Regions from separate parts of the Homo sapiens genome. Here regions 1 and 3 are each linked to region 2. The links are contacts of gene promoters, found by promoter capture Hi-C in blood cells and fetal thymus (Javierre and others, 2016). All regions are on one chromosome and are shown on one strand. Each heading gives the region's core, a stretch centred on a gene start or on the middle of the fragment in contact. The rest is flanking DNA. Distances are from core to core; before and after follow the strand shown. Region 1 holds the start of SNRPG (small nuclear ribonucleoprotein polypeptide G). Region 2 has its middle 17 kb from the start of LINC01816. Region 3 holds the start of SNRNP27 (small nuclear ribonucleoprotein U4/U6.U5 subunit 27).

What was found. The method cuts DNA at HindIII sites, captures the fragments that hold promoters and counts their contacts. A CHiCAGO score of 5 or more calls a contact.
Region 1: a contact is called between the fragment with the promoter of SNRPG here and a fragment that was not itself captured in region 2, in 3 of 17 cell types (fetal thymus, activated CD4 T cells and naive B cells). The highest score is 8.3, in fetal thymus.
Region 3: a contact is called between the fragment with the promoter of SNRNP27 here and a fragment that was not itself captured in region 2, in 2 of 17 cell types (naive CD8 T cells and naive CD4 T cells). The highest score is 8.1, in naive CD8 T cells.

The regions. Positions count from the first base shown.
Region 1 is chr2:70,291,937-70,296,363 of GRCh38, reverse strand. It overlaps SNRPG (small nuclear ribonucleoprotein polypeptide G), which reads left to right and starts at 2,624. Exons shown (of 4, transcript NM_003096.4): 1 at 2,624-2,746. The coding sequence starts at 2,715. LOC124906023 (a long non-coding RNA gene) reads right to left here and starts at 2,462. Exons shown (of 2, transcript XR_007086880.1): 1 at 2,432-2,462; 2 at 350-1,306. It overlaps FAM136A (family with sequence similarity 136 member A), which reads left to right. Exons shown (of 3, transcript NM_001329752.2): 3 at 1-388. RefSeq lists enhancers at 2,463-2,942, 2,959-3,866. The HindIII fragment of the contact is 8,673 bases long and covers 1-3,275 here.
Region 2 is chr2:70,140,719-70,144,718 of GRCh38, reverse strand. No RefSeq gene overlaps it. Among named protein-coding and RNA genes, the nearest start is that of LINC01816, 17 kb to the right of the region's middle. RefSeq lists silencers at 1,091-1,140, 2,071-2,780, 3,268-3,562 and enhancers at 1,471-1,610, 1,621-1,980, 3,201-3,740. The HindIII fragment of the contact is 804 bases long and covers 911-1,714 here.
Region 3 is chr2:69,891,281-69,895,318 of GRCh38, reverse strand. SNRNP27 (small nuclear ribonucleoprotein U4/U6.U5 subunit 27) reads right to left here and starts at 1,363. Exons shown (of 6, transcript NM_006857.3): 1 at 1,301-1,363; 2 at 105-225. The coding sequence starts at 1,334. RefSeq lists enhancers at 1-802, 1,001-1,060, 803-1,738. The HindIII fragment of the contact is 14,817 bases long and covers 1-4,038 here.

The DNA.
Region 1 (4,427 bases), core at 1,375-3,874, 150 kb before region 2:
GTTTTATTAGAACATATGGAATGAAAGCCTACACCTAGCATTGCCTACTTAGCCCCCTGAATTAACAGAGCCCAATTGAGACAAACCCCTGGCAACAGGAAATTCAAGGGAGAAAAAGTAAGCAACTTGGGCTAGGATGAGCTGACTCCCTTAGAGCAAAGGAGAGACAGCCCCCATTACCAAATACCATTTTTGCCTGGGGCTTGTGCAGCTGGCAGTGTTCCTGCCCCAGCATGGCACCTTATTGTTTTGATAGCAACTTCGTTGAATTTTCACCAACTTATTACTTGAAATTATAATATAGCCTGTCCGTTTGCTGTTTCCAGGCTGTGATATATTTTCCTAGTGGTTTGACTTTAAAAATAAATAAGGTTTAATTTTCTCCCCACTATTGAGTCTTCTTTCCTTATATCTGGGTGGTGAATATGTAACTTTCTCAGGATGCTTCTCCTTTTAACAGGTTAAATGAGTTAAAATGTCCAGAAGAGTGGAAATTAGTTGTTATGGTTCAGATGCAGAACTGGTTCACTGTAAATGGGAAAAACTTTGAGAGGAGACTAGGACATTGTGACTTGAAGTTCATTAATGTAGAAAAGAAACTGTCTATGAGGCTAAAAAGAGAAATTCATTATCTATGTCAGGTCTCTAGCTTCAACTAAACACTAATAGCAAGTGGTAGTAAAGGTACAAAGCTATGACCCTGCTAGAAAAAATTCAGTGTCTAGGATTTTGAGTACTAAGAGAGTGCAAAATATGTGATGAGTTTAAGTCTTTACTATCATTGATATTTATATAGAGCCATTCCAGAATATCAGGAATTAACTGAATTTTTGAGAACTATCCCCTATTTAAACACAAGGTATTCTATTTTGGTTTAGTCTTCTATAATTTTGGGGTAACAACTGGGAACAAGTCCGAGACCACTTTTTACACATCTTGACATGAAAAAAGAACACCTTATATTAGAAAATGTTTGTGTGCTGCACTTCACATTTTATATACAGGGGCAATAGCACATCAGTGAGTTCTGGAGGTAGTGTTTGAAAAATTTCAGAATTCCCAGGCATGCTGGCTAACCCCTGTAATCTCAGCACTTTGGGAGCCGGAGGCAGGCAGATCTCTTGAGGCCAGGAATTTGAGAACAGCCTGGGCAACAAAGCAAGACCTCGTCTCTACAAAAAAAAATTAGCTGGGTGCAGTGGCGTGCGCCTGTAGTCTCAACAACTCAGGAGGCTGAGGTGGAAGGATTGCTTGAGGCCAGGAGTTCGAGGTTGCAGTGAGCCATGATCACACCATGCTCCCCAGCCTAGGCGACAGAGCAAGAACTCATCTCAAAAAAAATTTTTTTTGCAAGACCCCTCAGTCAGAAATAGATTCAAATTCTTGGAGACAGACCCAGTCACCTTACTCTACAATGGTTCAGAGGCTGCTAATTTACATGTTACGGGAACCCTACTTGGTCTGACAGTATGCTGTAGGGTTACCTGCCAAAAAAATATAGAGGCCCAGCCGGGAGCGGGGGCTCACGCCTGTAATCCCAGCACTTTGGGAGGCCGAGGCCAGCGGATCACGAGGTCAGGAGATCAAGACCATCCTGGCTAACACAGTGAAATACGGTGTCTACTAAAAATACAAAAAATCAGCCCGGCGTGGTGGCGGGCACCTGTTGTCCCAGCTACTCGGGAGGCTGAGGCAGGAGAATGGCGTGAACCCGGGAGGCAGAGCTTGCAGTGAGCCGAGATCGCGCCACTGCACTCCAGCCTGGGCGACAGAGCAAGACTCCGTCTCAAAAAAATATACATATATAGAGAGAGGCCCATTCCTCCAGGGATCATTATCATTTGGTATATTGGTATATATGAAGAAAATAAGCGATACGATCCACAGACATGCGGGATTGGCCGGGTTTGCCCAGGAGCTAGAGACGGGACCGTTATCTCAATATCTCAATTTTATTTTTTAAATAGAGAAGGGGTCTCGCTATGTTGCACAGGCTGGTCTCGAACTCCTGGGCTCAAGAGATCCAAAGTTCTGGGATTTACGGCGCCCGGCTTTTTTTATTTATTTATTTATTTTTATTTATTTTGGCTGTTCCATAGACAAGAGCAGGGATAACCGGCTGGGCGCGGTAGCTCACGCCTGTAATCCTAGCACTTTGGGAGGCCGAGGCGGGCGGATAACGAGGTCAGGAGATCGAGACCATCCTGGCTAACACGGCGAAACCCCGTCTCTACTAAAAAATACACAAAATTAGCCGGGCATGGTGGCGGGCGCCTGTAGTCCCAGCTATTCGGGTGGCTGAGGCAGGAGAATGGCGTGAGGCCGGGAGGCGGAGCTTGCAGTGAGCCGAGATCGCGCCACTGCACTCCAGCCTGGGCGACAGAGCTAGACTCCGTCTCAAAAAGAAAAGAAAAAGAGCAGGGATACCCACCGGTGGAATACCCGTTATCTCAATTTTGTACAAGGAAAACGGAATTCAGAAAGGTGCCTAGAGGACGCACCCCTCCGTCCTGGCCAATCGCTGAGGACATAACCGGAAGCTCAACGATGACCGAGGCGCTGAGATATCGCGAGGTGAAATGTAAAAACTGCCAACAATCCATTGGCTAACGAGGTCGATGACGCCAGACGCAAGACGCCGGGCCTACAGCGGGAGCGTGAGGAAAGCCGTGCGTTGCGTTCCAAGGCATCTGTGAGCCCGCGGAGTATACACCATGAGCAAAGCTCACCCTCCCGAGTTGAAAAAGTAAGTATGTGTGAGAGCCAAACCGAAGTGGTCAGTTATTTGCGTCCTGCGAGTCCCTTGGTTCCCTCTCCGTTAGCCGAATGTCTTGAGCCGCTTCACTTCATTTCTTCTTCCGGTCCGAGGTCGCCGGGATCCCGGCCAGGCTCCCGCGCATGAGACGTGAAGCCCGCGCAGAGCTCGCGCGTCGGTGTGGTTACAGCCGGCAGCCACGGCACCTCCTTCCGGCCGACTAGTCTCCAGGTCCCGCGGTCTGGCCCCTGGTCACCCGGCGCTGTCCCTCGTTCCTTGAAGATCTCCAGTGCTACCTTTTGTTGAACATCTCGAATAGTATCATGTTCTAGATAGACGGCTAGAGGGGGAAATTCTCTGAAGGAACTAAGGAGGGGCTGGAAGGGAAGGAAGTGTTTTTAAAACTACGTGAGGCATCAGAATCCGAAAGCCACTTTAGTCTTAGCAAATGTGTTTGTAGGTGTTTGAGCTTTTACTTAGAAACCTCATTCCTTTTTCTTGCCTTCTTTTACGTTAAGCTTGAATGTCATGTGTTATCTTGCTCTGATGTTGAAACTATATAAGAACATTCATTTTTCTTTTTTTTTAAGAACATTAATTTTTTCTAGTCAGAGAAGGCTAATTTTTTGAAGTTTTTTCTACACACCCAGTAAAGTCAAACAACTTTAAGTAGGAGAGCCTTACTTTAGGTAGGACTCAACGTAAAGCTTTGAATTCCTCAAATACTTTTTGAGTGGACTTAACAGGTTATGTGTTTCCTGACTACGTTTCTGTTTTGCTTATACTTCCTGATGCTGGAATTCTACATGTATTAGTTGGATTGCACAAAGGATGCAAAATTTTTACAGGGATCAGTTTTTTCTGGCGTAGCATGTGGTTGGCTTTGTGTATAGTTAGTTCATTTATTACCAGGCCCATGGAAGTCAGACAAAAGGTAAAGTTCCTATTTAATAATTTTGCGGCCGGGCACAGTGGCTCACGCCTGTAATCCCAGCACTTTGGGAGGCTGAGGCGGGAGGATCACCTGAGGTCAGGAGTTCGAGACCAGCCTGGCCAACATGGTGAAACCCCCGTCTCTACTAAAAATACAAAAAATTAGCCAGGCAGGTGGTGTGCGCCTGTAGTCTCAGCTATTCCGGAGGTTGAGGCAGGAGAATCGCTTGAACCCGGGAAGCGGAGGTTGCAGTGAGTCAAGATCGCGCCATTGCCCTCCAGCCTGGGTAACAAGACCGAAACTCTGTTTCAAAAAATAATAATATTTTTGCATTTAAAGGTCCATTTGTATCAAAGCCATCTTTTGTATGAAAACTACTTCTATGTATATTTTAGTTAGGTCTGTTAAGGAATTAATTATTAAAACATAAGCCCAACGCGGTGGCTCACGCCTGTAATCCCAGCACTTTGGGAGGCCGAGGCGGGCGGATCACGAGGTCAGGAGATGGAGATCATCATGGCTAAAACGGTGAAACCCCGTGTCTATAAAAATACAAAAAATTACGTGGGCTTGGTGGCGGGCGCTTGTAGTCCCAGCTACTCGGGAGGCTGAGGCAGGAGAATGGCGTGAACCCGGGAGGCGGAGCTTGCAGTGAGCCGAGATCGCGCCACTGCACTCCAGCCTGGGCAACAGAGCGAGACTCCGTCTCAAAAAAAAAAAAAAAAATAGAAGTTACTC
Region 2 (4,000 bases), core at 63-2,562:
GGATTACAGGCATGCGCCACCCATGCCCGGCTAATTGTGTATTTTTAGTAGAGACGGGGTTTCTCCCTGTTGGTCAGCCTGGTCTCGAAGTCCCGACCTCAGGTGATCCGCCTGCTTTGGCCTCCCAAAGCGCAGCGATTGCAGGCGTAAGCCACCGCGCCCAGCCTTGATTTTTTTTTAATCCTCCTTACCGACCTTGCTCCCTGCCTGCCTGTCTTCCCATCATCCAGTTCTGCAAGCGCCCTTCGCATCTACCATCCCACCTGCTGTACCAAGCGAGCAGGACGACTTACTTTATTTACAACAGCACTTCTCAAACTTCAATGTGCACAGGAATCACCCAGGGACCTAGTTAAAATGCGTATTTTGATGTAGAAGCTTTATTTTTTAAATTTTTTGAGACAGAGTTTCAAAAACGTGGGGGGAAAAGGGAAAAGATAGGTAGAAAATGATTCTTAGCACCCCCAAGCATCTTTAACCTTTCATTATGTTTACTTCCAGCCTTTTTCATGAAACAAAATTGTGGTCTGACTGTATACAGTGGTATTAACTACAAAGGTTCCTAAGAAGGGACATCTTGGTTGCCCAGGCTGGAGTGCAACGGAACAGTTTTGGCTCAATGCAACCTCTGCCTCCCGGGTTCAAGCGATCCTCCTGTCTCAGCCTCCCAAGTAGCTGGGATTACAGGCGCCCGCCACCATGCCCGGCTAATTTTTGTACTTTTAGTAGAGATGGGGTTTAGTAGAGACGGGGCCAACATGTTGGCCAGGGTGGTCTCAAAACTCCTGACCTCAGGTGATCCACCCACCTTGGCCTCCCAAAGTGCTGGGATTACAAGCATGAGGCATCGCATGCCGCCCGATTCAGAAGCTTTAAAGTGTGGTCCAAGATTCTGCATTTCCATCAAGCTTCCAAGTGATGCGGAAAGTGCTGGACAGCAGGGAGGCTGCTGGCCTGCAGACTGCACCAGACTGCACTTGGAGTAGCAGGTCTAATGCCTGATACAGTCCTGTAACGTCCCTCCCACCTTTCACTGTCACTCATGGGGAGGGCAGTGCTGGAGATGGGTGGAACTTAACAACTAGTGGCCAGGGCCATGTACCAGTGTCAGCTTTGTGCCACTCTCTCACCAAACTGCTCCAACTGCTGGGGCACTAACCTTGTTCCTTAGAACTAGTTCCCCACTCAGCAGTTCCAGAAGTACAAAGTGGGTTCTGTAGTTCTGTGAATTCCCTGCACAACTTTTCACTGTCTTCCCCACTCCCACCATCTTGCAGGTTCACAGTTTAGAGCCTGGGTTTGAAACCCCAGTCTGCCACTCTTTTATGCGCGGCCTTGGGCATGACTCTGAGCCCGTTTCCTCCGGATGATGTGAACAGTGATTAGATACCGTGGACGAATCACTCATTTTGTCCATTGTTTGAACTTTTCCTCTTCTACCTGTTCCTCTAAATTAGCCTTGAAGCTAAAAGGTGCTTTTTGTCCCTTCTTAGGAATCTTTGTAGTTAATACCACTGTATACAGTCAGACCACAATTTTGTTTCATGAAAAAGGCTGGAAGTAAACATAATGAAAGGTTAAAGATGCTTGGGGATGCTAAGAATCATTTTCTACCTATCTTTTCCCTTTTCCCCCCACGTTTTCTATAATTAACAATATTAACTTGATAGGTTTGAAAACAGTCAAAGTAAAATAAACGGCATGAAATCAAGCTTCCACCCGCTCCGCTGAGAGTAGGAGAAGAGAAAGAGAAACGCGCCGACCGCGCCTGGCTGGGGCTGGTCACGCGGCAGCCGCCCCCACGCCTCCGCCAGATGACGTAAGTCACGTTCTCCACTCGCCCGCGCCGCCGCTTCCGGGGGGCTCGGCTGCTTTGCTTCCACCAGGCGGCGCCGCAGGACGCTCAGTTGCCAATGCCTCCTGCGCAGCCGCCCTGGCGCACGGGACACGTCACCACCTTCGCGTCTTTTCTGGAGAGCGCGGGAATGAGAGCGCCGGAGGGTGGTGACGTCACCGGGGTTCCCTGCGTGGCTCGCAGGGGCGGGGCCAGGTACGTGGCGCGCTGCGGCCCGCCCGGGGATCGGGAGGGGAAGGAGAACAGAGAGGGGGAGGGGAAGGAGGGGGAGGGGAAACCAGCGGGACGGGGAGGGGCGAGGTGGGTGGTGCCGATGCCTAGTCTAGCCAGGGCTGACCGGGCCGCGCCCGCCTCGTGACCACTGTGGGGCTGCGCTGCGGGAAAGGTGCTGACGAGGCGGGCGCGCGAGCTCGGCGGGGAGGGGTGCGGCCGGTCGGCGGCTGGCCGGTCCCCGACTTCCCGGCACCCTGGGCGACCGCTCCCTCGTGCGAGCGGGACCACGCCTGGACCGGGGCCCGCAGGTTTTACAGGGCAGCGGGGGGGATTTGGGGCACGTGGGGTCGGGCCGCACCCCGACCTCGAGACGGCGCGGCGCTGCGAGCAAAGAGCCGTCGCGCCCGGAGCCAGGCCCCGCCCTACCTGGGATCCCGTCGCCCTCCCGTCCCCGGGCCTACACCCGCCCCACCTGGGATCCAGTAGCCCTCCCGCCCCCGGGCCTACACCCGCCCCGGTCAGCTCCGGCCAGGTCGGGGAGGAGGAGGGCACGCGCCGGGAGGACCGCGACTGGCCGCCTGGAGCCCGTGGCTCAGGCTTTCCCAGCCGCTGTTTTCCCCTTTGTACATCGGGATCCGCTTCGCACACTTAGTTTCTGCCTAGCACATGCTGGGTGTTGTGTCCAGATACACTAATTCTTTTTCCCCTTCTTCCCCGCCAGTCACTAGAGCCGGTCTGGAAGGGCACTAACGCCTGGGTAGTCCTTCAAACAAAAAGCGTTGTGTGTCTTGCTTACTGGCCGTTAATAGAAGTTTCCCCTTGAGAGTGGCTTTGGTTAGGAAAAAGGTGGCAAAGGGCCCATCCCTGAACTGATTAGTTGAGCCTGGGACCTGATCAGAATTGAGGGGAGGAGTGTTACCAGAATTTTCTCTGTGCCCCGCACTTGCATAAGTGCTTATGGCTAGGAGCCCTGTGTAGGGCACACATTACCTTGGGGCGCCCTTCGCTTCTTTCTCCTCTTGCTGCCCCTTCCCGGAATCTCTCACCTCATGACGTGACTATGGTCAAGTCATCGTTTCTGGGATGGCCTGACCCCTGGGGACACGCCAGCCTCCAGGAGCTTATATGAGGCTGGTTTACCAGAGTAGACAGTGTAAGGCCCTGTCCTGGAAGGAGGAACATGAATATGTCCTGAAGTGCTTGTGTCATGTGTCAGGGGTTGTGCTAGGCTTTTCACATGAGTGATCTCATTTGATTCCCACAGCGGTCCTGTGAGCTAGGGGGAATCATCATCCCTCTATGTAGTTGAGGAAACTGGTTCCGCCGGTTTAAGCAACTTACCTCACATTTCACAGTAGGGAGGTGATGGTTGTAGGGCTTTGGCAAGAAAGTGTCAGTACCTGGTCAGGCCCCTAGGGTGTGAGACGCTCAGGGCCATCCTGGAGGGTATGGGTGAAAGCATGTAACACCGTGGGTTTCCCCCCCTCTGTCACCCCATTCTCTTGGCCACCGCTACCATTTATATCAAGGCAAAACCAGGTTAGGTGGCAGATGGATAGTGTTCGAGGCAGAAGAAGCCCCAGAGGGCAAAGACAGGGCAATTCCTTCTACCCCTCACCCCACACACACTTTGCTTTGGTCATGGATGGGTTAATGGAAGGACTCCTGTGTATCAGACTTGGGTCTTTTTTAGCACCATCTGGCAGAAGTCACCTCTCCTCACACTTGCTGCTTCTACAAAACATTGTTCACTTGGCAGTCAGCAGTGCAAAAGGCAGAAGTGTGGTGCGTGTGTGATTTGGATTCAGTGGACCCCAGAGACAATTGTGTTGTTTGCATTATGTTGCGATTGACAGCCCATAGACACTGCTGTGTTGTATGTGGAACCACAAAAGACGAGAAAGGCAACAAAAGCAGACGTTCCCTCTCCTT
Region 3 (4,038 bases), core at 114-2,613, 250 kb after region 2:
AACCGTAAATCCCCTTATAAGCGATGAAAACAAAGTTAAGAGCTGCGACCAGTTTCTTAGGGACTTTCGGTAAATAAAACTCTTGGCTTATTTTCTGCCCTTACCGGGAGCGTCTTCGGTGCGGGGATCGCGAGCGGCTCCTTCTCCGATCTCTCTCCCGAGACCTGGACCTTTCTCGGCGCCTGCGTTCTCTCTCCCGGGATGTGGACCGGGAACGCCTACGTTCTAATGCAAACGCACACAAATTGCAGAACTGATAATTACCTCAAATATCTAGAGCTGCGCCGTCCAGTAGAAAAATAATGCAAACCATTACTAGTCACATTAAAAAGGTAAAAAGAGGCTGGGAGCGGTGGCTCACGCCTGTAATCCCAGCACTTTGTGAGGCTGGCGGGCGGATCACAAGGTCAGGAGTTCGAGACCAGCCTGGCCAACGCGGCGAAACCCCGTCTCTAATAAAAATACAAAAATTAGCCAGGCGTGGTGGCACGGACGGGTAATCCCAGCTACTCGGAAGGCTGAGGCATGAGAATCGCTTGAACCCAGGAGGTGGAGGTTGCAGTGAGCTGAGATCGGCCACTGCACTCCAGCCTGGGCGGGCGACAGAGCGAGACTCTGTCTCATTAAAAATAAATAAATTGATTTAAAAAAAAAACGAATCAGGGGCAGAACCGAGGGTCTAAGTTAGATCTCCTAATGGAAGTCCAGGGTTCTTTACGTCGCGCTGCCTCATTTATGGGGCTGGTAGCCAGAAAACATTACGAAGTGAGCTCCCAGGACTCAAAATTCTTAATATCGATTTCCCTGTAATGACCTGGGCAGGAATCTAACATTTATTAAGTATTTAAGAACCAGGCAGAATCACATACTGTATGTTATGGGATGTGACATTAATTCTCACATCAGTTTTTAAAAGTTGGCAATACTACCCTCAATGACTCATTCTGGGAATTCGATTCAGAAAGGCTGAGTAGTGACTTGCCCACCGTCGCCCAGAAATTCAGCAAAGGAACTGAGGTCTAATTCTAAACCCACCGGCCACAGTGTAATAAAAGTTATTGTATGAAGGTGACAAAGACTTAATGAAACTAATTCAGAGACAAACAACTGCCTTCAAACCGGAGAGGGCGGGCTGAAGAGGGCAGGGCCCAGGTCTACGTTCCTTTATCCACCCCTCGCTCTCCGCCTGGGAAAAGGGCCCGCCTCTCTGCTACGCGGCTACCAAAAACAAAACAAAATAAAACAAAAGGGACAGGCCTCCAACAGAGCCCCATATCCTCCGAATTGCTACAGGACTCACCCCTCCGTGGAGAGCGGCTGCGACTGCGACCCATTTGGAGTCCCGCTTCCCGGAAACAACTGTGCAACAACTTCCGGGAGGGCCGGGAACCGAGCTTTTACCGCCGACCAGAAAACGTCAAAACGAGTTGCGAGGGTTCCGGTCTTCTTTGTTCACGGTGGGCATTAAAACATGCGATTTGGTGTTATTATAGAAATTCCTGGAAAATTCAGCCGTATACCCATTATCCTAACACAGCTTTCATTTTTCCCCCATTTTTGTCCACATGCACAAAATAGAGCAAACCAATTGTAAACATAGCATAGACAAACAGCTTATGTTCTTCCACTTTTCCACATAACATTCATAAGGAGTGAATATACCAAAGTTCACTGTCCATCTGCTTTATATTTTCTCATGCCAGCATTGAGAAGGCACCCAAAACCTCCTATGGGCTCTTGGAAGGAAAACTAAAGGCCCCAGATTCCATCCTACCCGACAAAGTACTTCCCCAAAGTTGCCTCTGTCCTCAGGGAAAACAACAACAACAACAACAAAAACTTTAGAATGTTCAAAACTACAAAAATTAGGAGAAAGACTGTCTTGCCCCAAGGCTGAACCGTCTGTGGTAGAGCATAAATATGCTTACCAGGAAAGACTCAAACCTCTATTTCTTATTTTATTTTATTTTGTTCCAGGGTACATTTGCAGGATGTGCAGTTTTGTTACATAGGTAAATGTGTGCCATGGTGGTTCGCTACACCTATCAACCCATTAAGCCTTGCATCTATTAAGCTATTCTTCCCAATGCTCTCCCTCTCCCCAGCTCCTCCCCCTACAGGCCCCAGTGTGTGTTGTTCCTCTCCCTGTGCCCATGTGTTCTCATTGTTCAGCTCCTACTTATAAGTGAGAACATGCAATGTTTGGTTTTCTGTTTCTGTGTTAGTTTGCTGAAGATAATGGCTTCTAGTTCCATCCATGTCCCTGCAAAGGACATTATCTCGTTCCTTTTTATGGCTGTGTAGTATTCCATGGTGTATACGTACCACATTTTTTTAATCCAGTCTATCATTGATGGGCATTTGGGTTGATTCTATGTCTTCGCTATTGTGAATAGTACTGCAGTGAACATATGCGTGCAAGTATCTTCGTAATAAAATTATTTATATTCCTTTGGGTATATACCCAGTAATGGGATTGCTGGGTCAAATGGTATTTCTGGTTTTAGGTCTTTGAGGAAACACCACATTGTCTTCCACAATGGTTGAGCTAATTTACATTCCCACCAACAGTGTAAAAGTGTTGAACCTCTGTTTCTAATCAAACCAACTCTTTTCAGTCAGCTCTCTCTAGAATTATCAAGTCTAGTGACCTGGCTTTTAAAATACAAAGAGCTGGGGGATGGAAAGGGACTTTATTAGGTTGGAAAAAATGCCCACCAATCACATAAATTTTTAATTAGATTTATACATTCAGAGTGGCCTGTTTAATACCTGTCCCAACCCAAACTTCCAGGAAAGATCCAGCCATGACATCTAGGATTTCTACCAACAGCCCCAACCCCCAGATGCCTTTGGAATTACCCTGGCAAAGCATGCACTAGGTGTAGAATGGGGAGGTTCAAGGGAGGTGCAGACCCCAGGGAAGAAGATTTAGGGACATCATTGGAGAAACACACCACTAATGATAGCCAGGCGTGGTGACGCATGCTTGTAATCCCAGCTACTTGGGAGGCTGAGGCAGGAGAATTGCTTGAACCTGGGAGGTTGAGGTTGCAGTGAGCTGAGACTGCGCCACTGCACTCCAGCCTGGGCGACAGAGTGGGACTCCGTCTCAAACAAAAAAAAAAAAAAAGAAAGAAGAAGCACACCACTAATGATTGAAGAAATTATCCACAGGAAAGACAGGATTTATGGGAAGCCTAAGGGGGTATGTACTAGATGTGTAAGAGAGGAAGAACATGGTGGCCTCAGGTGGTGGCTGAAAATACTCTTTCTTTCTCTTTCTCTTTCTCCTTCTCCCCTCAGGGCTGGGGTCTCATCTGATGAAAATGCTTTTTAAGAAACCCCTCACCCGGCGCGGTGGCTCACGCCTGTAATCCCAGCACTTTGGGAGGCCGAGGCGGGCGGATCACGAGGTCAGGAGATCGAGACTACAGTGAAACACCGTCTCTACTAAAAATACAAAAAATTAGCCGGAGGTGGTGGCGGGTGCTTGTAGTCCCAGCTACTCGGGAGGCTGAGACAGGAAAATAGTGTGAACCTGGGAGGTGGAGCTTGCAGTGAGCCGAGATCGCGCCACTGCACTCCAGCTGGGCGGTAGAGTGAGACTCCGTCTCAAAAAAAAAAAAAAAAAAAAAAAAAAAAAGAAACCCCTCTAGGACTAAAAATGATTGGAAGGTATGCTGGGGATCAGTTGAATACACAAAGATTTTTTGAATGCATGCGATGCACAGGACACTATACCCCTTTGGCACTAGATTGAAAAGATGAGTAAGACATGGTCCCTGCCTCAAGGAGCTTGCACTCTAGCTGTGGAGGCAGACAGAGGAAGACACCTCTTCACTGTAATGTGGTAATATAAAATATGCACAGTGTGCTAAGGTGACATGAAAGAAGGCTATTCAGCCTAATTTGTCCAAGAGGGTTTCCTGGAATAATAATAATAGCTAATACATACTGTGCTAACTAAATGCCAGGCACTGTTATAAAAATGTTTATGTACACACACATTCACACACAATTAGTTGAGCTGTGAGA